Regions from separate parts of the Homo sapiens genome. Here all the other regions are linked to region 6. The links are contacts of gene promoters, found by promoter capture Hi-C in blood cells and fetal thymus (Javierre and others, 2016). All regions are on one chromosome and are shown on one strand. Each heading gives the region's core, a stretch centred on a gene start or on the middle of the fragment in contact. The rest is flanking DNA. Distances are from core to core; before and after follow the strand shown. Region 1 has its middle 12 kb from the start of PIP5K1B. Region 2 overlaps TMEM252-DT (TMEM252 divergent transcript). Region 3 overlaps PIP5K1B (phosphatidylinositol-4-phosphate 5-kinase type 1 beta). Region 4 overlaps TMEM252-DT (TMEM252 divergent transcript). Region 5 has its middle 31 kb from the start of PIP5K1B. Region 6 holds the start of FXN (frataxin). Region 7 overlaps PIP5K1B (phosphatidylinositol-4-phosphate 5-kinase type 1 beta).

Region 1 (3,404 bases), core at 226-2,725, 340 kb before region 6:
TGGTCATAAGCCTCAATACACATAATCTTTAAAACAACTCAATAAGGCAGGACCATTCATGTCCCCACTTTACAGACTAATAAACTAAGGCACAAAAAATTATGTACTAGAGGTCATGTAGCTGGAAAGTGGAGGAGCTAGCGTTGGAATCCAGGCAGAGGCTTCTAACCACTATGCCGCACACAGAGAAATTATTTAAAAGACATTTTAAAATTGTTTTTAATGAACACACAGTAATTATACACATTTATGCGGTACAGTGTGATATTTTGATACCTGTATACAATGTGTAATGTAGAAAGACATTTATGCAACCCCCTTTGGTTGAATATTGTCCAGGAACAGATTATTGGTTTGTTTGTAAGTCTAGAAATCAATTAACTCAATTAGCAAACAATGATGAACCATCTACAGTGTGTGCTGGGCTAAACCGTGGGATACAAAGTTGGGCAACATGACATTGAAGATGATGATAACTGGTGTGCTGAGAGCTTACTGTGCAACAGCCCCTGACCCAGGTGCTATGGATATAATGGGGAGCATCATAGTCCAGGTGAATTTCATCACAGACCTCAATCTTGTAGGAGAGAATCAACCGTGAACCAAGCGCTATAATGGGAATTGTTTAGAGTTGTGCGGTCCAGTCCGGGCATCACCAGCCACATGGGACTATTTAAAAGCAATTAAAATTAAATAATACTTACACATCAGTCCCTCGGTCACATTAACCACATTTCAAGTGCACATGTGGCTCGTGGCTACCTATAAATAGCACAGATTATGGAACAATATTCTTGCTGAACGTTCTGTTGGATGGCACTGGTTTAGAGTGTTTGGAAGCACAGAGAGACATTTCTCATTTAAACTTGGAGGTGAGGAGAGGTGTCAAGAAAGGGATCCTGAACAAAGTAATGTTTAAGCTGACACGTGAAGAATGACTAGTTTTAATCCTTACTAGAGTTCTGTGAAATATTTTGTATCTCTACTTAATGAATGAGAAAATGGTCTCCAGGAAGTTGAGAAACTTGCCTGAAGTTGCAAGAAAAGGGTGAGAGAGAATATTTGATTCCCAAATCCATGCTTGAAACACTAACAGTCACTAAAGCAACCATGGACAAAAGAGATCTCTTTTGAAAGAAACAGGTAGCAACTTCACAAATAATTGTTTGAAGACTTTGTGCTGTATTTTAAAGCACTCTGTTAAGTATTAATGTAATATGAAGTTTCCAAAAACAATTTAAAAAACACAGGGCTTCTCACCACATGGAGTCTGCCATTTCACGGAGAGATAGACAGGTGTCTATGAAATGTTGGCAGAACAAGTGAATTCTAAGTGCTATAGGAATTACAGGAGGTGGTAATGTCTTCCTGTGAAGACTTCCTGGAACAGGGAGGAATTAAGAGGGGTCTTAAAACTGTGTAGAATGGGCATATCAGAGCATTGCAGGCAGGAGGAAAGTTTGTTGGAAGGCTCAGGATGGGGGCCTGCAAGATCAGTGCTGAGAATGGGAATAATACCTTAGTCTTACGTTGGGGGTTTGTTCAGATGAGACAACTCAGTCTTTTCTGCAGGCATGGGCTTTCAACACAAATTCTTCTTGAACAATATTTATGGGTGTGTCTATAAATATTGGTTCAGGGGCAGGGCAGAGACATCACTATTTCCCCTTCAGGGAATTTCCCTCAGAGAGCATTATTGACATCACAACAGAATTCGTGGCTTCCCAGAGGAAAAGTCTTCAGGAACTCACAAGAGAGATTTTCGGGGCAACCCTTCTTTGCTTTCAGCGTGTGTTTAACAGTTCTTCCCCTTTCTCTCATACCTTTCTTCAAACCTGCAAATGAATCCCAGTGCTAGAGAGTACAGAATTACTTGTGGGAATTTAAAATCAATACATTGTTATGCACTTAAGTTCATGGGAAAAATAATCTAATTAACAAATATCTGCACTGACTTGTGAGCTATGTGAATCTGACAAATTAATACTATACATGGCATTTTATATACTCGGTTTGCTGTTCACATACTATCTGTTGGGTTCTACTTTTTTGTCTTAACATTGTCTTATGTACAATTTTCTTGGCACATCAATATAGTCCAAATAAGACCACTTTTTAATGATAGTTTATAACAAAATCAGTCTTCAATTATTGGCTAGTAGATTTATTGCCTGATAGCATTTTAAAAATATCAGTGCAATGAATAGTTTTGTACAATCATTTTTTAATTACATATTTTTGTTTTTAGAGCATATTCTCTAAAATGGGATGACTAGAACCTAGGTTTAATCATTGTATGCCTCTTGTTAGTTGTTCTCTAGGAAGATTATACCAATATTTACCTAGTGTATCTGTCCTCCCAAAGCCTTGTCAACACTGGATTTTGAATTATTACTTTGCTCTTGGTAATTTAAGGGACCTTACTTCGACTCTCTGTCTCAGTTGCTTTATCTGTGGATGTGGATAATGAGTTTTCAGGGTTGAGGATTGAATGAGATAGTGCAGGCAAAGCATCGGCACAAGGCACGGTATATAGTAAATAGGCCGCTAATGTCTATTCTTCCCTTGTAAGGAGTATGCAATGGGAATTTAGAGCTGCTTCACGTTGGGTTTTTTGTTGTTTGTTTGTTTGTTTGCTGCTGAGGTTAAGCATTTCTTTCAAGTGATTATGTATCACTGGAATACCTGGGGTGTGTCTTAAAGCCACTCTCCCTTTCCACTCTTCTCTATCTCCTCTGTCCCACAGTATGCCCCAGTCCTGAACTAGACTTTACCATCCTCTATTCACCACCTGGTCCAAGATCCAAAATAATCACCATGACTAGACTTGAGATACAGTGCTAATAGGAGACAGCAGAACATCCCTACAAACTCAGAGTTCTAGAACCACACATTCTCCATGTGGAAAGGAAGTCCCAGTGGTTGTCTGTCCAACTTTCCAGTGATCATCTGACAGATTCCCATCAGTAGATGTGTTCTCTTCTTAAAATATGTTAAATAACACCCCTCAAGTAAATTCTATGAAGAATTTAAGGTGAGGCTAGAATTTGGCCTCTTTATTCTTGGTACCTAGGCAACATGGTCAGTACTCTTACCTACCATAGTCAATTCTCAGATAATCGTGTTATCACTTAGCCAAATTTTGAAACATCTTTGAGAAACATTGAATTAAGTTCTTAATGTCATAATTAAACCGAGTAGAGAGCATTCTTCTGTTGATAGGACTCAATATTTTATTTAATGGGACTTCTCCCATGTAGTTTACAGCCACGAAACATTTAAAGTCTACCTTCTTCTAGATAAGAGCTGGTGTCTGAAATTGATAAATCAAGAAATAGAAGCTTGAGTATGTTATTTGAAGTTATAAAAGTAGAAACTATTACCAAAATAAATTCAGAAAAATT
Region 2 (3,576 bases), core at 530-3,029, 420 kb before region 6:
CTACTCGGGAGGCTGAGGCAGAAGACTCGCTTGAACCAGGGAGGCAGAGGTTGCAGTGAGCCAAGATCGCACCACTGCACTCCAGCCTAGCAACAGAGTGAGACCCTGTCTCAAAAAAAAAAAAAGCTAAATGTTGTAAGTCCTGGTATGATGGTGTCAGCTTCCTTGGGGAAGTACTTCTTTAGTTATGTAGCTAACGAGATCTTTTACTACAGATCTGGATGGCTATTCAGATAACATAGCAAAAATGATAGCAGAAGATCATCAAAAACTTAAAATATATTTTATTAGAAAACATGTATCTATGAATGAGTATTTCCTTGATGCTAGTCTCTGCACACATATAATTTGTTACTTGTATGCATTCATTGGTTGTTCAGTATGTAAGACAATTACAAATAACTTAATACTGTATTTTCCTTGTATGGAAAACTGTTGTAGACCCAATGACTAAAACTTTCAAAATAAAATATTTTCTATTATGAAAAAAAAAGAATATCTAATGACAAGAGAAATTCTGTTAGATAAGTTGCTTTTGGCTATAAGTAACAGAAAAATTTAAACAGCATAAACAATATAGCTATTTATTTTACCATCTGTCAAGATGTCCAGTTTGGGAATGGTTGCAACATCGGTTAATTCAGAAGTTTAACAAAGGAATAGCAGTCCTGGTTCTGATCTTGTTCATCAGCTGATCTTGTTCATCAAGCTTGCTCCCCCATCCCCCATGTTTGCAAATTGGCTGCCATTGTTTCAGATACATTCAGACAATACCCAGACTTGAAAACGGAAGTTTCTTCCTACAAGTCATTTTTTTTTAAAGAGCAAAGAAACTTTTCCCAGACATTCCCTAAGGACTTCCCTGATGTCTCTTTGGCCAAAATAATGTCACATGCTTACTCCCAAGTCCATCACTGACAAGGTGAAAGGAATGATTAAGAATGACCTAGACCAATTAAGTTTCATTCCCTCAGGCTGGAGAAGGTTCCAGCTTTCCCTACAGCACATGGCTGTCCTATGTCTCAACAAAATCAGGGTTGGCTCACAAACCAGAATGGAGAGAATTGGCTGTTAACTAGACTACCGTCAGGTAACACAACAGTAAATGCAACATATTTCCATTTGTATAAAGAAAAGTGAATATAGATAGGTCTATAAAGAATAAAAGCCTATGCATATTTTAAAATATTATTCATGTTGTTGGGATTATAGAAAATATTTATTTTTCTTGTTTCTGCTTTTCTTTTTTTCCTAAATGTTCTGCAATGAATATGTAATATATTTGAAGTCTATTTGTGCCCTCCCCCCACCAAAAATATATCCAAGAAAGGTTACTTTAAAATAAAACATTTATAGTCCTTGCCAGGTCTTTTTTTTTTTTTCTTTTAAAGTAAGTATTAAGAGCAGTTATGTAAAATCAAACTCAGAGGTTTCATTCAGTTGAGGCTAGAATGTGTCTGATGCAGCCTCCAAAGACATGGAGCCTCCTGCACTCGCATGAGTCCCAGGACCCTGAGGCCCCACGGAGATGTCAGCAATTTTATCCCAGGGGCTACTCTTGCTGCTTAGAAGACGATGTCCTGTGACTTATCTTCCCAAACTGGAAGGTTGGACAGTACAAACCAGATTCTAAACCAGTTCTCAGTGTCAAGGCCAAGAAGATATCAGACCTGTCTAGGGAACAGGGTTACACTGAGACTTTCGGTTCCACCACAAGCAGGAAGACAGAGCTGGAGGAATGAAAACAGAAGGCACAGCAAAAAAGACAATTAAAGAGCAGCGAAGTCACTCTATGCCTCTAGACACATGTCCAATAACTTGGCATAAAAGCACATGCATTTTGTGACCAAGTTGGACTGGAATTCTGTCCTGGTGTACTCTGCATGTCACCTGTAGACACTTCTCAGCCTGTACCCGGGATTCAAAAAGTTGAGGGCGATCAAGAATGAGGAAAGATATTTCTGCAGCCAAAGCAGGGACAGTCCACATTCACTCAGCAAATCTCTGACCCTCTGCATGAAACCCCAGTGGCCACCTCCAGCCCAGTCCTGGCGACACAGAGCAGGCAGTGCCCTCAAGGAGATGAGAGACGCAACCCAAGTGGAAAAGACTCGAGCTTTAGAGCAACACAGACCTCAGCTCCAATCGGACGTCACCAATTGCTAGTTGTGCAAACTTCGGCAAGCCACTTCACCACCCTGTGCCTCAGTTTCTTCACGTGTAAAATGAGAATAAGGCTTTTTAAGTATTCATCGAGTTCGCTTATGCAAAGTGTGACGAACCTCAGCTCAGCATAATTGAGTGAAGAAGCTGGAAGGGCAGTAATGGCCTCCAAATGCACCTCCAACAGCCACCCAGGAAATCCCGCCCTTGCTTTCGCCTCAGACTCTGGGCACAAAAATTAATCAAGAGCTCTGAGGCCGGAAATCTGGAGCTGTCAGATTCACTCTTCTGGATTGAACTTTTAATGGAGGTGGATCACTGGGGCTTGCTCTTGCCAGATAAATAAATGGTACTTTAAAAATTATACCCAGCTAACAAAACCTGCTCACAGCCACACCACTGGTGCTGGGGAAGCGAGCTCTGACTCCGAAGAACAAATCACGCCTGAGGGGCCTGAGTGGAGAAAGTAAGGTTAAATCACTGGAACCACGTATCCATCTGCAACGGACTGTGTGGGTGGTGTGCATGAAAAGAACAGAGAAGAAGGTAGGAGAAGCTGCAGGAGGCAGAAACTGGAGGGGAGGCTCTGTCTTTGGAGTAGCTGCCACTTTGATATCTCTCTTTTTTTGGAAATGCTCTCTGCTGCTACTTGTTTGGGAGTTTAGCACAGCTAGAGAAATGGCTCATGAAGCTTGAGGTGAGGTGGAGATGAATTCCCTCTAATGAAAATCCCTGAGCCATCAAAGTGCTTCATTAGTTCCACACAAGACCTCTAAGGTGCGCAATGGACATACGGGGCTCTTCAGTGAAAAGATTATTCCCCGTGTGCTCATCTGGACACTAAATTCTGGTTTAATCACTATTAAAACTGTCCTGAGAGAAAAAATGGGGCATGTGAAAATGAGAACACTCAAGGTCATATTTATCCACATTGTTTAGAGTGAAAAGTGTAGCTCATACAAAGCTTGCCTGGCTACTGAAACCACTTCATTGAAAAAAAAAAGGCCAATAAATATGTCCAAGCCTTTGTACTTCCATTTTTGTAATCTAAAATGTTTTGGTTTGTTTTAGTATTTTATCTAAGAAAAAGAATGTGTTTGGGGCCAGGAGCAGTGCCTCATGCCTGCAATTCCAGCACTTTGGGAGGCCGAGGCGGGCAGATCGCCTGAGGTCAGGAGTTCTAGACCAGCCTGGCCAGCATGGTGAAACCCTGTCTCTACTAAAAATACAAAAATTAGCCAGGCATGGTGGCACATGCCTGTAATTCCAGCTACTTGGGAGGCTGAGGCAGGGGAATTGCTGGAACCTGGAAGGCGGAGGTTGCAGGGAGCCAAGATTGTGCCACTGCACTCCAGCCTGGGTGACAGAGCGATACTCTCCGTCTGAAAAAAAAAAAAAAAAAAGCAAATAAAA
Region 3 (3,291 bases), core at 60-2,559, 290 kb before region 6:
ACCCACTGGCATATAAGGATGCTGTGGCTGTTGACTTTTCACATTTGCTTAACCAAAGTGCCAGTTTATTGAAGATGAGTTCTGTGTCATGTTTTACTGCCCTGCATGTTAAGATTTGCTTTTCATGACACTAAGACAATGGGAGATTGAATGGGTGGAGTTAAAGAGGCCCCTGTCCTTCTATTGATTCTCCTTGGGTTTCCTGCTGAGTATGGGTTGAGGCTCTGGCCTTCTCAACTGGGTGCCAGATGAATGTACCGGGAATCCTGTTAGGGTGACATCTAAGAAGAAGACTCATAAAGCACAATATTGGGAACTCAATCAGAGCTTGTTTCAGGAGGATCAGGGCTGAGCTTAGTGGGGGTTCTTGGTGATAGGGATTCCTTCCTGAAACACATTTGTCTTCCTGGAAAAGGAGGAAGGTGTAAGAACGAGAACCACTGATGTATGCAGGAGGTCCGTAGCCTCAGTTGCCATAGATACTGAAGGCTCTGCATGGCCTGGCCAAGGATGGACAATGTTACAAGGTGGACCCACAAACCACAGTGATCTTCATCCTCAAGCTGGGGCATGCTGGGCCTCATTTTTGGAAAGTACATTTTCCACGAGATGTGCTAACACAATGGGGTTCTATGTATAATCTGCCTTGAACAAATAGGTTTCATGGGAGGCCACGAAAAAACAACTTCATCAAGTCTCCCACTCTCCCATTAAAATTTATTCAGTGGAAAGCATTTCCCCTGTTTTTTGGATGAAAACATATCACGTGGCTATTCTGATTCCTCATATATAATAAAAAGCCCCACTTTAATTTGCCAGATATTTAAAATGTCTAGTATCATGGGATAGTTAAAGCTTCCAGCTTCATTCATATTTATAACTGCTCCCCTTCCCCTGGCTAGGGCCTGTTGCAGGGAGAGGGGGCTGTGGTTGGAGGCTTTTTCTCTTGCTTACTCAGTAGCTATGACTTCTGGACTGGGGTGAGGGGCTGGGTGGGGAACAGGAAGGAGTGTAGGAAAGCTTTTACTAGGCAGGCGGTATCATAGGAGAGCTCTTTTTGTGTTGTGGGTGTTTAGAGTTGATTCTTTCTCTTGTGGGGCCCTTTTGTGGGTTCTTTGGAGATACCCTCTCACCTTGTCTCTGGGGGCCTCTCACCTCCAATTTCCTTGGTGGGGCTGCTGCACTCTCTTCAGCCTAATTGCAGACTGTTTCCACAGTCTCTAGAAAGCCCACCAATCCATTCGTACTCCTGTCTGCTGGGTTCTATTGCTGTCCAGGTGGCCCTTGTTGGGAAGACCCTAATATATAGCCCTGTACATATGCTCATGGTGTGGTCCATGGGAAACACTCACACTTCCTTTGTTCCCACCAACTGGGAGAGGGCAGGCTGCTCCCAGGGCAACTGTCGTTTCCTTTGGCTTGTCCGTCAGCATCCAGCCAGCTCTCCAGTTCTTCAGATTTCTTAGGCAGAAGTCCCAAACAAGGTCACAGTGCCTTCCACATCGTAAGAGCCTCATGCTCTCCAGGTAGTCCTGTTGAGCCCCCTCATGAGGCTGGAAGGGGGAGAAGCAGGGAGGGGCAGGTACTCTTATCTCTTCCTAAGCTTAGTCCTTTAGGCTAGGACCAGACTGGACTGCAGCCTGCTTGCTTCAATCATTCTCTCCTTTTAGCCACCAACAAGCAGTCTGACCTACTTGTAGCCACACCGTAGGTAAGAGGTTTAAGACCAGTGAAAAAGGTTTTGGGCTATGTTCTTTGAAAAACTGCATCTAGGCCTGGCACTTCACTTTGGAACCTGGTATCTCATCCATCTTAGCGGCTTGTTTGACACATCCCATTTTGACATTCTGTAATACTTTCTTGGGAAGCAGGGCTTATCCTTAGCTCTTGGAGATGCACATGACACACAGCATAGAAAAGGCTCCTGGGAGTAGACAGGAATGTCCACTTCACTCCAGCCTCTTCCTCTCCTGCCCTCCATCCTGCTCCAAGGGCCTGTGCTCCACCTGAATCTTCCATCCAGGAAGCTCCCTCTCTGCTGCCTGCTCCCACTCTGTGTTGCCAGCTCCTTCTGTTCCTTTAGGATTCCTTAATGTTCCTTCCTTAGTAAAGACTTCTTTGTTCAAACCCCACCTAAGTAGATCTCCCCTAATTTTCTGTTTTCTGTTACCGCAATTCCCTTTATTTCCCTCACAGTACATCTTATATTATAAATGATAACGTTTCCAAATAAATTATACAAGCTATTTAGTGTCTTACTCTCACATCAAATGGTAAGCCCCATAAAGGAAAATTCATGTCTGTTTTATTCGGAAACTAACCAGTGCTCACTAAATATATGTTGAATAAATGAATGAAAGCATGAATTAAAAAGTTACTTTTGTTTAAGCTGTTCTTTCCCCACATGTCTCTCTTCTTTTGTGTTAACTCTTTTTTTTTTTTTTTTTTTTGAGACATAGTCTTGCTCTGTCACCCAGGCTGGAGTGCAGTGGTGCGATCTCGGCTCACTGCAACCTCCACCTCCCGGGTTCATGCTACTCTTGTGCCTCAGCCTCCCGAGTAGCTAGGACTACAGGCATGCATCACCATGCCTGGCTAATTTTTGTATTTTTAGTAGAGACTGGGTTTTGCTATGTTGGCCAGGCTGGTCTTGAACTTCTGGCCTCAAGTGGTCCACCCACCTCAGCCTCCCAAAGTGTGTTCACTCTTAACAAACAGATTCTTAGTTATATGGCATGCACAGAGTTTTGGAAGTACTGAGACAAGGCTTAATTTTTGGTATATTTTTCTGTTCATCATCATCTCCCCTCACCCTTTCTCTCCTCTCTCTGTCTCACTTTCTCTTTCCCTCTGGCTCTGTCTTTTTCTCTCACTCTCTTCTAACAAGAACTTAGTTTGAGGCAAGTGGAGCAGAGGTGCCACCCCATGTTACAGATACCCACACCAAGGAGAGTTAGCTGTGAGATAACCTAAGGGGTTGATGGCAGGCATGGCCCAGAGCTCAGCACTTCCATGTCTCTTCTGGTCTTGTCCTCTCTGTGCCTCTCCTGCAGTCCTTTGTGTCCAGCTGTCATCTGGCCTTGCAGCAAGGCCTGGCTTACCACTTCCAGAACCTGCCGAGGTAGCAGCAGCCTGGCCTCGGGCTGGAGTGGAAAGACTAGTTCCCAGCCCAGAATCTATCTTGCATGGTACACAGCAAGAGAAATTCTCTTCAAGATGCAGCCCCATGAAAGCAGCATGTTTACAGGTAGTAGATCCCCAAAGTTGTCATAGCCTCCCCTAACCCCCTCA
Region 4 (3,280 bases), core at 123-2,622, 470 kb before region 6:
GTTCAAGCAATTCTCATGCCTCAGCCTCCTGAGTAGCTGGGATTACAGGCATGTGCCACCATGCCTGGCTAATGTTTTTTGTATTTTTAGTAGAGACGGGGTTTCACCATGTTGGCCAGGCTGGTCTTGAACTCTTGGCCTCCGGTAATCCACCTGCCTCGGCCTCCCAAAGTGCTGGGATTACAGGTGTGAGCCACTGTGACCGGCTGACTCCAAGTTCTTTAGGGCAACCAGGGCTTTTCTGGTGGCCAAGGCTTGACTCACAGAGAGCAAAGAATAAGAAACATTCTGATTCTTATTTTAGCAACTCAAGACATAGCAACCCAAGATGTGGAATCTGATGCAGATGGGTGCCCTCTGAAAAGATGAGTCATTCTATCATGGTCCATGACACATAACCTGGACAATTCAGAATGGGAAAGGGGTGCAGCTGGAACACAAGCGAGGAGAGAGAGAGGAGAGAGGGTAGTGGTAAGGGGGTCACTTGCTTCGGTGAGGCTATTTGTCAGGAAGCCAGGCTGGGTGCCTAATCAGTGTGGCCGTATTCTCTCTCTTCATGGCTCTGCAACCTGTTCATTGGATGAACCTGGCTTTGTTCCTTCCCACCTCTGGGTATTAATATATTAAGAAAACAAATTACAGCCCAATCCCACAAAGGCTAGGGAACCTGCCTTTCTTCTTCTTCATTGTGTCCCCAGAGCCTAGCAGATTGCCTGCTACGTAGTTGATAAATATTTGAAAAAAATCAGTGAGGCTGGAGGTAGAGTTTGTTCTCAAGGTGAGAGGTAGGGCAGGATTTCCTCCCTTAAGTAACCAGGCAGGAAAAGAACAGAGTGTCACTTGTTATAGGGTACCATGGTCAAACCAAGGAAATCAGGATTAATTTGAAAGTCCAAAAGGAAGTAGCACAGATGAAAACTGGATATAGTCAGAGGTCAGGACTTGGGCAGACCTGAACTTAAATGGGATCAAAGAAAGGAAATGAGGTAAGGATAGCCCTGCTGTCCACAAATTGCCCCATGCATAAGTAGATTAGGTTGGTGTAAAGCTATGTTAACTAATATTCAACAAATATTTATTCAGTCCCTATTATGTGACAGGTACTACTCTAAGAGGCACTCGCAATTCTGCAGTAAACGAAACAAACAAAAATCTCTACAGCCACGAAGTAGAGAGCACTGACCCCAAAAGGAATAATAATAATAGCCATTTGATGATTTAATAATCGTAATAAATAATTGCTTACCAGGTGCCAGGCATTGTCATCGTTATCATACATAGACCACCCAATCAGTTGATGTGGAAGTAAGTTCTATGCTTATGCTAACTTTCACTTTTCCAAAGGACTTTCTTCTTCAGACCATCACCTCTGGGTGCAGAAACGACAGGAGGAAGTAAAGTCTGAACTTACGACCTGGGATATTACATTTCAGTTTGGTTCTGGCCAGGCACCATGGCTCACACCTGTAATCCCAGCACTTTGGGAGGCTGAGGCAGGCAGATGACAAGGTCAGGAGTTCGAGACCAGGAGTTCTGGCCAATATGGTAAAACCCCATCTCTACTAAAAATACAATAATTAGCCGGGCGTGGTAGCAGGCACCTGTAGTCCCAGCTACTTGAGAGGCCGAGACAGGCGAATCGCTTGAACCCGGGGGGCGGAGCTTGCAGTGAGCCGAGATCACGCCACTGCACTCTAGCCTGGGCAACAGAGCGAGACTCCGTCTCAAAAAAAAAAAAAAATTGGTTCTAACAAGTAGGCAAGTCGCCTCATGACTTATATTACTGGTTACTGAAAGATTGAGTAACAAGATTGCAGTTAATGAAATAATATGAGGCTTTTGATGGGTGTTTATATGAATAGTAGGTAAAGAAAATGGTTTTAAGAGAATGAGCATCAAAAGTCTTTCTCTAAAATCCTTTGTGGCATGTTGTCAGAGGAACATTAATAATGAACTATTCTAGACATCCTCTCGACAATGCTTTCACAAAAACATAATATCACTCAACTGACATGGGTTTAGTTAAAAATTCCAGCCAGATGATGATTATTAAAAAAGAAAATCCTTACCAGTTAGACATGCATGTAGACCCTTGAGTGTGTTTTTAAAAAGATAGATACATGGAAACATTAGATATATAAAGATGTATATTCCAGCCAGAAGTGCCTGTAAGACAACAGTACTCCTAAACATAAAGTAAGTTATTTAGAAATTTTCAGATTTGACAAGGGGTTTTATTGTTTGCCTCATATACTTTATACACATAGAACTTGCTGTGTTAAAAAGCCCTAATTCACTAACTTCATTTGTGTATTATTCAATGCCTTTCCATGTATTAATATTTCTGGGGCTGTCCCTGGTGAATGATTGTGTATGGAAGAGAATAAATTATTTGGTTAAGACCCCAGCCTCGGGAGGCAAGTTGCCAATGCTTAATTACTGGCTCCGTCACTTACTGGCTGTCTGATATTGAGCAGGTTATTTAACTTCTCCATGCCTCATTTTCCCCATCTGTAAAAGGGGGTACTAATAATGTGTCATAGGGTGGTTAACAGGTTTGAATATGCTTATAAAATGCCTGGAAAAGTCTCTGGTACATCGTAAGTGCTGTGTGAGGTGCTGATGTTTTTCTGCTTCTGCAGGTGTGCCCTTGCTGTCCTTTGCCTCCTCAGCTGGGCTAACACTGCTGCTCTTCCCTTCTGAAGCTCACCATCTTCCATCCTCAGATCCCCTCTTTCACAGTGCTGCTGACATCTCTTCCACCCAACCTCACCTCCCATAATTCCCCACACCTCAGAAGAGCCAAGCTCTGCCATTGCACGTGGAGGTAGAAACTAGAGAGATAGCACCAAAAAATAACTTTCCTCCTTGACATAGGCCCACATCCATTTTAGGGTGGGTTCCTGAGCTGGCTCATGACATGGTCCTGGCATCTTCCCTGTAACCAGAGTCAGTTCTGCCCAACCACCCACTCCAGGCCTCCCCACGCCTCAGACCCTAACTCCAGGAAAAAGGACCATGTTGTCCCCTCACCCTAGGCTAAGGCCCACCACAGTTCATTTCTTGCCTTTGGATTGACCTCTTCCTAGGATGGCTGGGAATAAGAGCTTCCCTTCCCTTAAGGACAAGCCCCACTCCACCCACAGGGCTGTGGGACAGATCTGAGGCTCAACAAGATGATCCCATTAGAGTCCAATTTAGGGATTGCTGGGAAGTGCAGTCATCACTGCCAGTGGGGTCCCACCAAACACACTGTGCTCAATTCAGATCCTACTCAGCC
Region 5 (3,365 bases), core at 651-3,150, 360 kb before region 6:
ATTTGGGGCTAAATTGTCCTGTGCTTAAATATTAGGGTAAATGAAATCCTATATATAATAAAAAACTTTTGAAGGTTTCTAGCTCTCCTTCCCTGAAGTCATTGATTTATTTGCTTATTTATTTATTTACTTAAGTTCCTAAGCAGGGAGATGATATATTGAATATTGAAGTCTGATGTCATAGAAGAGTGAAGTATGGAGTGATAAGAGAACATCAACAAGTTTCTTATCTTGACTCTGCCACTTACTAGCTGTGTGACCTTGGACAAGTTATTTTCTCTGAGGCCAGTGTCCTTATCTGTCATAGGAGGAATAATAGAGTCCTCAGCTTAGTGAGGTGTTGCAAAGGTTATAGATAATATCTCTAAAATGCTTGGTGTATTGCCTAGTACACAGGAAGCCAATAAATGGAGAAGATTTTTCAGCTAGCTATGTGCAGCACAGATTGATGGAGAAGAAGTGAGGGCATGAGTCTCCCCTCTTGTAAAGTAATCACAACTACATGGGGATAAGGTCATGAGGAGTTGGGCTAAGATAGTCAAGGTAGTAAGAAAAACAACCCTAAATATATAAAAAAAAAACTACTAGAACTTGGAAACTAATTGAGCATTATGATAGCTAATGTTTACTGCGTGCCTAGTATGTGCCACAAGCTATTTTAAACACTTCAAAATATTAGCTCAGTTCTAAAAATGCTCTGAGGAGGTACTATTATTGTTGCCATCTCAGAGTCTATCATCTCAAACAGACACTCAACGAGATAGAATAACTTGCCTGAAGTCATATAACTAAGGCCAACAGGAACTCAAACCCAGGCAGCACAGTACCAAAGCCCATGTGCTAATCTACCAGACTATATTGTCTTGCCCCTCAGGAGGAGGTTAGGGAGCAATCGGTGAGGATTCACAGGTCTGGAGACCAAGGAGGGCAGGAGGAGCAGAAGTGTGCTAAGAGAAAATGATGCTGTGTGTCCTGACATGTTGAGTCTGAGCTTCGGGAACATCGAAGTGGATGTGGCCTATAGGGAGTTTGAAGTTGGGGCCTGGAGCTTGCCCGTGTGAGAGGATCTGTTTGAAGACAAAGATGTGAGAGTCACCTACTGCATAGGAGATAGTTGAGTAGTTTATCAGCATCACCCTTTTGAGTGGTCAAAGGTGTGGTGACTCTGGTCAGAGACTGCCTGGCATAGCTGACTAGGAATTGGAGAAGCGATCAGTCTGGCACTTTCCAGACTGGGGTTTCAGCAAGTGTTGTTATTGTTGTTATACCAGGGCATTCTGTCTTTGCAGAAAGACACTCAGGCACCTGCTGCCACCAACAATTATTTCCCAAGATCTGGAAGGCAAAGACATGGGCTTTTCCTTTTAACCTTATCACTGCCCTGTCTGCCATGCTTGACTCTTCTTCATTTCTCTGTGACAGACATCATGATATAATAGAAAAAGTTCCAGAGTTGGAGTTATGCCTGAGTTGAAATCACAGCTCTGTAACTCACCAGCTCAGTCATTTTGTGTAAGTTAATTAAGTCATTTAATCTTAAATGTATTTTTTAAGCTGTCAAATGGGAATAATACTTTTTTCAGAAGGTTGTAGTGAAATAACTACTAAAACCTTTAGTAAATGTTGGTTACTTGCCCCCAACAATTCCATCTTCTTTCCCCTGGGGTGGTTTAAGCATGGCCACAAATTATTTGATCTTTCCTCATTAAGAGTTGGGGGTTATGTTCCCTCCCCTTGAATCTAAGCAGGCTCATGACTACTTCAACCAGCAGAGTAGGGTGGAAGTGTCTTTTTGTGACTTCTGGAGTTAGATCATAAAAAGGTGATGTAGCTTTTGCCTGTTTGTTGAACTGCTTGTTCCTGGAGCCCTGAACCTTCATGTAAGAAGTCTGACCATCCTGAAGCCAGACGCCACAGCTGAGCCCAGCCTTACGACCGTACCCACCAAGGCACCGGGCATATAGTACAGCTGAACTGGACCTTTAAAACCAGCCTGTCTGCCAGCTGAATACCACCAAGTCATCTCCATTGACACTACATGGGACTGAAGGATCACCCAATCAAACCCTGTCCACCAAATGTCTAACCCCAAAAATCATGAGATACAATAAAATGGTTGTTACATTTCCGAGTAGTTGATAACTCAGCAATAGTGAACTAGAACAATCACTTTTATTCCAATCCCTTTAATTCTTCCTCCTCCACCTGCCTGCTTACTGGAAATAGCCAGTCCTGAGTGTATTCTGATTTGAATCCTGTTCTAATATTTCATTGTGCAAAATGTGATTTGAGGGTAATTTCATTTTATCTCCTTGAGCCTCCTTCCTTCCTTCTTTTTTTTCTCCCTTTCCTCCATAAGAATTTTCAGAGTGTTTTCATTGTATCAGATGCTAGATTGGGCATGGTCACTTTCCTCTATGTCAGGGATTAGCAAAATTGTTTAAAAGACCAGAAAGTACATAATTTAGGTGTGCAGACAAGTACCCAAATGTGCCGCTGAAGCATGAAAGCAGCTATAGATGTAAACAAATAGGTGTGGCTATATACTAATAGATGTTCATTCATCCAAATGAGTTTTGTATTCATTTACAAAAATCGGGAGTAGGTTAGATTGGGCACCCAGGCCATAGCTTGCTGACTCCTGCTCTAAGTGCCCAACACCTGGTTGGGAACATATGTATGTGTTCAGATGTCTTCCCAGGCCATATCTGGTACGTGGCAATGCTATTCAGTAGCTAGAGAAAGAGCCTCCAGCCACCCCAATTCAAAAAGGACCTGGAATTTAAGTCAAGTCTTGGCTGACAGAGGAATGGATGTTCATACTTGGAGATGGAGGTGCAGAGGCATGTAGTCCCAGAGCGCAAACAGGGATGTCAAAGCAGCGCAGGGAGCTGGAGATGAGGATGGGCTGAGCAGAAAAGTGAGAGATCAGGCAGAAATGCTAGAGAGCCTTATTTTCTAAAATTGACAGAATGCTTCTTCTGCTCACTCATTTTTCTCTCCAAGGAGTTGAAGGACAAATCTGATAAGGTAAAAATGGCTGTGAGCTCTGCAGATGCCTGCCAGGTATTACTGAAGCTATCATCTTTCCTTTTCAGAAAAATAGCTCCTTAAAGTAGATGTCTTCGGAACACAATGTAAAACCTCTTCCCCTCCCTCTAGCATAGCAGGAATTCACAGGAGGGAACCAGAATAGCATGTCATGTTCTAACAGCTCTTCCAGCAGTGAGACTAAATACACATAAACTCTTCTAAATTTGTATCTGCTGCAAACATGAACAATGACATCTTGTCATTCTGCTACGAGGTTCATCTGGACAAATTATATGCAGCGAAGGACACACTCCATCACTTTCCTGACTTTT
Region 6 (3,441 bases), core at 336-2,835:
CCCCATCCCTAGCTCTATATAAATCTCCCACTCAACACTCACACCTGTTAGTTTACATTCCTCTTGACACTTGTCATTTAGCATCCTAAGTATGTAAACATGTCTCTCTTCACGATTCACAAAGTGGCTTTGGAAGAACTTTAGTACCTTCCCATCTTCTCTGCCATGGAAAGTGTACACAACTGACATTTTCTTTTTTTTTAAGACAGTATCTTGCTATGATGGCCGGGCTGGAATGCTGTGGCTATTCACAGGCACAATCATAGCTCACTGCAGCCTTGAGCTCCCAGGCTCAAGTGATCCTCCCGCCTCAGCCTCCTGAGTAGCTGAGATCACAGGCATGCACTACCACACTCGGCTCACATTTGACATCCTCTAAAGCATATATAAAATGTGAAGAAAACTTTCACAATTTGCATCCCTTTGTAATATGTAACAGAAATAAAATTCTCTTTTAAAATCTATCAACAATAGGCAAGGCACGGTGGCTCACGCCTGTCGTCTCAGCACTTTGTGAGGCCCAGGCGGGCAGATCGTTTGAGCCTAGAAGTTCAAGACCACCCTGGGCAACATAGCGAAACCCCCTTTCTACAAAAAATACAAAAACTAGCTGGGTGTGGTGGTGCACACCTGTAGTCCCAGCTACTTGGAAGGCTGAAATGGGAAGACTGCTTGAGCCCGGGAGGGAGAAGTTGCAGTAAGCCAGGACCACACCACTGCACTCCAGCCTGGGCAACAGAGTGAGACTCTGTCTCAAACAAACAAATAAATGAGGCGGGTGGATCACGAGGTCAGTAGATCGAGACCATCCTGGCTAACACGGTGAAACCCGTCTCTACTAAAAAAAAAAAAAAATACAAAAAATTAGCCAGGCATGGTGGCGGGCGCCTGTAGTCCCAGTTACTCGGGAGGCTGAGGCAGGAGAATGGCGTGAAACCGGGAGGCAGAGCTTGCAGTGAGCCGAGATCGCACCACTGCCCTCCAGCCTGGGCGACAGAGCGAGACTCCGTCTCAATCAATCAATCAATCAATAAAATCTATTAACAATATTTATTGTGCACTTAACAGGAACATGCCCTGTCCAAAAAAAACTTTACAGGGCTTAACTCATTTTATCCTTACCACAATCCTATGAAGTAGGAACTTTTATAAAACGCATTTTATAAACAAGGCACAGAGAGGTTAATTAACTTGCCCTCTGGTCACACAGCTAGGAAGTGGGCAGAGTACAGATTTACACAAGGCATCCGTCTCCTGGCCCCACATACCCAACTGCTGTAAACCCATACCGGCGGCCAAGCAGCCTCAATTTGTGCATGCACCCACTTCCCAGCAAGACAGCAGCTCCCAAGTTCCTCCTGTTTAGAATTTTAGAAGCGGCGGGCCACCAGGCTGCAGTCTCCCTTGGGTCAGGGGTCCTGGTTGCACTCCGTGCTTTGCACAAAGCAGGCTCTCCATTTTTGTTAAATGCACGAATAGTGCTAAGCTGGGAAGTTCTTCCTGAGGTCTAACCTCTAGCTGCTCCCCCACAGAAGAGTGCCTGCGGCCAGTGGCCACCAGGGGTCGCCGCAGCACCCAGCGCTGGAGGGCGGAGCGGGCGGCAGACCCGGAGCAGCATGTGGACTCTCGGGCGCCGCGCAGTAGCCGGCCTCCTGGCGTCACCCAGCCCAGCCCAGGCCCAGACCCTCACCCGGGTCCCGCGGCCGGCAGAGTTGGCCCCACTCTGCGGCCGCCGTGGCCTGCGCACCGACATCGATGCGACCTGCACGCCCCGCCGCGCAGTAAGTATCCGCGCCGGGAACAGCCGCGGGCCGCACGCCGCGGGCCGCACGCCGCACGCCTGCGCAGGGAGGCGCCGCGCACGCCGGGGTCGCTCCGGGTACGCGCGCTGGACTAGCTCACCCCGCTCCTTCTCAGGGCGGCCCGGCGGAAGCGGCCTTGCAACTCCCTTCTCTGGTTCTCCCGGTTGCATTTACACTGGCTTCTGCTTTCCGAAGGAAAAGGGGACATTTTGTCCTGCGGTGCGACTGCGGGTCAAGGCACGGGCGAAGGCAGGGCAGGCTGGTGGAGGGGACCGGTTCCGAGGGGTGTGCGGCTGTCTCCATGCTTGTCACTTCTCTGCGATAACTTGTTTCAGTAATATTAATAGATGGTATCTGCTAGTATATACATACACATAATGTGTGTGTCTGTGTGTATCTGTATATAGCGTGTGTGTTGTGTGTGTGTGTTTGCGCGCACGGGCGCGCGCACACCTAATATTTTCAAGGCTGGATTTTTTTGAACGAAATGCTTTCCTGGAACGAGGTGAAACTTTCAGAGCTGCAGAATAGCTAGAGCAGCAGGGGCCCTGGCTTTTGGAAACTGACCCGACCTTTATTCCAGATTCTGCCCCACTCCGCAGAGCTGTGTGACCTTGGGGGATTCCCCTAACCTCTCTGAGACGTGGCTTTGTTTTCTGTAGGGAGAAGATAAAGGTGACGCCCATTTTGCGGACCTGGTGTGAGGATTAAATGGGAATAACATAGATAAAGTCTTCAGAACTTCAAATTAGTTCCCCTTTCTTCCTTTGGGGGGTACAAAGAAATATCTGACCCAGTTACGCCACGGCTTGAAAGGAGGAAACCCAAAGAATGGCTGTGGGGATGAGGAAGATTCCTCAAGGGGAGGACATGGTATTTAATGAGGGTCTTGAAGATGCCAAGGAAGTGGTAGAGGGTGTTTCACGAGGAGGGAACCGTCTGGGCAAAGGCCAGGAAGGCGGAAGGGGATCCCTTCAGAGTGGCTGGTACGCCGCATGTATTAGGGGAGATGAAAGAGGCAGGCCACGTCCAAGCCATATTTGTGTTGCTCTCCGGAGTTTGTACTTTAGGCTTGAACTTCCCACACGTGTTATTTGGCCCACATTGTGTTTGAAGAAACTTTGGGATTGGTTGCCAGTGCTTAAAAGTTAGGACTTAGAAAATGGATTTCCTGGCAGGACGCGGTGGCTCATGCCCATAATCTCAGCACTTTGGGAGGCCTAGGAAGGTGGATCACCTGAGGTCCGGAGTTCAAGACTAACCTGGCCAACATGGTGAAACCCAGTATCTACTAAAAAATACAAAAAAAAAAAAAAAAGAAGAAGAAGAAGAAGAAAATAAAGAAAAGTTAGCCGGGCGTGGTGTCGCGCGCCTGTAATCCCAGCTACTCCAGAGGCTGCGGCAGGAGAATCGCTTGAGCCCGGGAGGCAGAGGTTGCATTAAGCCAAGATCGCCCAATGCACTCCGGCCTGGGCGACAGAGCAAGACTCCGTCTCAAAAAATAATAATAATAAATAAAAATAAAAAATAAAATGGATTTCCCAGCATCTCTGGAAAAATAGGCAAGTGTGGCCATGATGGTCCTTAGATCTCCTCTAGGAAAGCAGACATTTATTACTTGGCTTCTGTGCACTATCTG
Region 7 (3,638 bases), core at 210-2,709, 320 kb before region 6:
AATAAGAGTTTTAAAAAGGAGAACATAAGCGAATCTAAAATTTATATCTCCAAACTAAGTCTTTCTCTGAACTCTAGTTTGCATAATTGACATTGCGCTTGGATATCCCAAAGGCACCTCAAATTCTACATGTTCAAAACCAGAATCATGATCTGTTTTCTCCACATCTGATACTCCTGCAAGGTTCCCAGCTCTGTGGTGGGCACCGCTAGTCACCAAGTAGCACGATCAGAAACTTGGGAGCCATCCTTGGCTCCACCCTCTGCACACACCACATCTAATCCATCACCAATGTCTATTGATTTTGCTTCCTGAATATCTTTCCCATTCCATCTGCTTCTCATCATTTGTGCGGATTCTATCCTAGCCCAACTTCTTGTCTCTCTGCAGGACTGAGCCAGAACCTCTCTGGTATCCTGAGTCCACTCTGGGTCTCCTAGAATCCATTACCCATATTGTAACCAGGGCACTTGTGATGGTTGGAGGGCACCTGAGGCTCTGCTGGCCAGATCTCTGCTTCCTGTACCCTGCCAAACCCTCACGGAAGCACACAAATTCTGACCCCAGGGCTCTCCACCTCAGTGGCCTTTTGAGCTCTTGGACAGCCTCTGAGGACTTGTTTTTCCAAGTAGCTTTCTACCCTGATGTTTTTGCTCTCCTGGAGTCCAGTCAGAGGCAGGTTCATAACTACAGTCAACTACTTTTAAAGGAACAGGATGGAAACTCCAGTGTAGCTCTAGGGACTTGCCCAACCCTACCGCAAATACCAAGTTCTTAAGAGTTCTCCGGCAGTTCCCAAGGTGCACTCCACTCACTCCAACAAAGAACCAAAGACTGCTCTACTTCCACAGTTGCTTATACTCTGCCCCTGAGTTCCCCCAGGACCCTGCAATATCACATTTGTGGCCACCATAGCAGAGAAATTCACCACCTGTGGTCTAGGAATAAAATCTAAGCCTCTCCCAAAAGGCACCTGTCTCTGACTGTTGACTGTGGCTTATCCTGGCAGCTTTGAGGAAAAGGCCTGGGTTGCTTTGCATAACTGGCAGGATAGATAAAGAAACATGACTCAAAATCATTCTCTCTGTATTTCCTCATAACAGGAACCAGTTGACATGGGTGCAGGAAAAACTTCCTGACCAAGGAGTGGGGCCTGGGGCTGGGGGTGCTGGACAGAGAGAAGCACAGGGATCTGCCCCAGACTCTTCAATGGCCTCCCTTTGTGCCTGGAGTGAAGATGTGGGTCATTGACATGGTTCCAGAGCCCTGCACGGTCCTGGTCCTGCTGCCACTCCAGTCTCAGATCCACCACTCTGCCCCTTGCTGTTTCTGAGCCACACTTGCAACTGCCAGCTTCACACCCTCTGTGCAGCACTCTCGTTGCCCCCTTTGGAATGTTCTCAGCATCGGTCGACCACGCTTCAGGTCAATTCTAAGGTTACTTTTGAAAGGAGGCCTTGGCCACCCATCCCCAGTCTAGGACAGGACCAGTGGTTCCCTCTCCAGGAGGGCTTCAACAGTATGATTATTTGACTAGTTTCCTCGCCCCCACCAGCTGCTAATCATCAGGGCCCATTGCATCCCCATAGTGTCGGCACATGTAGAATTGTCTTGAGTGAATAAGTAAATGAATACCAATACTTCTACCTTAAAAAAATCCTTTTCGTAAATTCCCACTAAAGAAAGGAAATGCACAGAGATCATGAATGAACCACTTCATATTGCCGATCCTGTCCATGAACTTGATCTTCAACTTTCATTACCACTGCCTAATTTCACCTGTCATGAGCCGCATTTCTATAATGGTAGCTGCAGGTATTATCCCCAAGGAAGGTTGCCCCAAAGGCATGATATAAAATATTTCTGGAAGAATACCTGAGATACTAGTGTCTTTGTTTGCCTCTGGGGAGGTGAATTGGCTAGCTGAGGGGCATGGATGGGAGGGGAATTTTCATCCCATATTTATTTGTACCTCTGAATTTGGACCCATATGTGTGGATTACTTATTTTAAAAATTAGAATTGTAAAAGTAAAAGGAAGGAAAGCAGAGCAAGAGATGTGAAGGAATGGGAATGATTATTTAGAGGAAAGAATATGGACATGCAGTTGAAAGGGGGTTGTCCTGAAAAGAATTCCTGTCTTCAAGGATACAGCCAGTTACATCTGACTTGCTCTGCACATCTATGGAGAACTATATGGCTTCAACTTAAAAGGGATGCCATAACATATAACTTGACTTAAATAGGTTTGTCTGATCTCTCCCATCACAGAATATAACATTTATTCTAAATATAAAAGCTAATAGAACCTAATTATTTAAGAGGGAAGCAGTTGTTAAGGAAGAAGTTAGTTGGAGGCTAAAGCATTCTCCTTGAAGACATAGAAGTGCCCAAGAAACATGAAAAAATGCTTATCATCACTAATCACCAGAGAAGTGCAAATCAAAACCACAATGAGATACCATCTCATACCAGTCAGAATGGCTATGATTAGAAAGTCAAAAAATAACATAGGCTGGCAAGGTTCAGAGAAAAGGGAGCGCTTATGCACGATTGCTTGGTTTGCAAATTTGTTCAGCCACTGTGGAAAACAGTGAGAAATCTTGGAGATTTCTCAAAGAACTGAAAATAGAATTATCATTCAACCCAGCAATCCCATTACTGGATATATACCCAAAGGAAAATAAATTGTTTTATCAGAAAGACACCTGCACTCACACGTTCATTGCAGCGCTATTCATAATAGCAAAGACAAGGAATCAACCTAGGTGACCATCAATGATGGATTGGATGAAGAAAATGTGGTATATATACACCATGGAATATTATGCAGCCATAAGAAAGAACAAAATCATGTTCTGTAGCATAATGGATGCACCTGGAGGCCGTTATCCTAAGCAAATTAACACAGAAGCAACCAAATACCGCGTGTTCTCACTTATAAGTGTGAGCTAACCATTGGGTACACATGGACATAAAATTGGGAACAGTAGATACTGGGAGCTCCAAAGGGGACAGGGAAGGAGGGAGGTAAGGGTTGAAAAACTACCTGTCAGGTACTGTGTTCACTACTTGGGTGATGGGTTCAATTGAAGCCCAATCCTCAACATCATGCAATATATCCAGGTAACAAACCTGCATGTGTAACCCCTGAATCTAAAATCTGAAAAAAAGATTCTCTTTTATGATCCAGGTATTTTTAGAATAGAATAAGAGACTGGACGGTAGCATCCTATAAAAACTGGTTAATATAAGTTGGCATAACCCAAGCTTGCATTTAATCTTTGCACATAGCTTTTCCAGTTAGTCAAATTTGAACTGTAAATAAGAGAAAAATACCAACTTGTCTTAGGTGGTTCAGGCTGTCATAACAAAGTGTCAAAAACTGGGTGGTTCATAAACAAAAACAGTTTATTTCTCATAGTTCTGGAGGCTAAGAGTCCAAGATCAGGTGCCAGCATGATCAGGTTCTGGAGAGGGCTCTCTTCCAGCTTACAGATGGCAAACTTCTTCTAGTACCCTCATGTGACAGAAAGAGGGAGAAAGAGCTTTCTGGGATCTCCTTTATAAGAGCCCGAATCCCACCCTATGACCTAATCACCTCCTAATACCATCATCTTGGGGTTAGGATTTTGATAT

Evidence for each region. Contacts are between HindIII fragments. The CHiCAGO score rates a contact against its expected background, and 5 or more counts as called.
Region 1: a contact is called between a fragment that was not itself captured here and the fragment with the promoter of FXN in region 6, in 3 of 17 cell types (megakaryocytes, erythroblasts and M1 macrophages). The highest score is 6.7, in megakaryocytes.
Region 2: a contact is called between a fragment that was not itself captured here and the fragment with the promoter of FXN in region 6, in 4 of 17 cell types (non-activated CD4 T cells, M0 macrophages, total CD4 T cells and 1 more). The highest score is 7.1, in non-activated CD4 T cells.
Region 3: a contact is called between a fragment that was not itself captured here and the fragment with the promoter of FXN in region 6, in 2 of 17 cell types (erythroblasts and megakaryocytes). The highest score is 8.7, in erythroblasts.
Region 4: a contact is called between a fragment that was not itself captured here and the fragment with the promoter of FXN in region 6, in 13 of 17 cell types (monocytes, naive B cells, total CD4 T cells and 10 more). The highest score is 9.5, in monocytes.
Region 5: a contact is called between a fragment that was not itself captured here and the fragment with the promoter of FXN in region 6, in 1 of 17 cell types (monocytes). The highest score is 5.2, in monocytes.
Region 7: a contact is called between a fragment that was not itself captured here and the fragment with the promoter of FXN in region 6, in 1 of 17 cell types (megakaryocytes). The highest score is 5.6, in megakaryocytes.

What each region holds. Positions count from the first base shown.
Region 1 is chr9:68,691,947-68,695,350 of GRCh38, forward strand. No RefSeq gene overlaps it. Among named protein-coding and RNA genes, the nearest start is that of PIP5K1B, 12 kb to the right of the region's middle. The HindIII fragment of the contact is 3,728 bases long and covers 1-3,339 here.
Region 2 is chr9:68,612,613-68,616,188 of GRCh38, forward strand. The region is part of intron 2 of TMEM252-DT (TMEM252 divergent transcript); the gene reads left to right. Among named protein-coding and RNA genes, the nearest start is that of LINC01506, 68 kb to the left of the region's middle. The HindIII fragment of the contact is 2,145 bases long and covers 708-2,852 here.
Region 3 is chr9:68,743,647-68,746,937 of GRCh38, forward strand. The region is part of intron 2 of PIP5K1B (phosphatidylinositol-4-phosphate 5-kinase type 1 beta); the gene reads left to right. Among named protein-coding and RNA genes, the nearest start is that of PABIR1, 35 kb to the right of the region's middle. RefSeq lists a silencer at 383-577. The HindIII fragment of the contact is 583 bases long and covers 1,019-1,601 here.
Region 4 is chr9:68,564,301-68,567,580 of GRCh38, forward strand. The region is part of intron 2 of TMEM252-DT (TMEM252 divergent transcript); the gene reads left to right. Among named protein-coding and RNA genes, the nearest start is that of LINC01506, 19 kb to the left of the region's middle. The HindIII fragment of the contact is 4,987 bases long and covers 1-3,280 here.
Region 5 is chr9:68,672,551-68,675,915 of GRCh38, forward strand. No RefSeq gene overlaps it. Among named protein-coding and RNA genes, the nearest start is that of PIP5K1B, 31 kb to the right of the region's middle. The HindIII fragment of the contact is 7,734 bases long and covers 1-3,365 here.
Region 6 is chr9:69,034,167-69,037,607 of GRCh38, forward strand. It overlaps FXN (frataxin), which reads left to right and starts at 1,586. Exons shown (of 5, transcript NM_000144.5): 1 at 1,586-1,781. The coding sequence starts at 1,617. RefSeq lists silencers at 1,475-1,944, 2,527-2,821 and an enhancer at 2,105-2,154. The HindIII fragment of the contact is 18,212 bases long and covers 1-3,441 here.
Region 7 is chr9:68,714,075-68,717,712 of GRCh38, forward strand. All of the region lies in intron 1 of PIP5K1B (phosphatidylinositol-4-phosphate 5-kinase type 1 beta), which reads left to right. Among named protein-coding and RNA genes, the nearest start is that of PIP5K1B, 11 kb to the left of the region's middle. The HindIII fragment of the contact is 3,615 bases long and covers 1-3,267 here.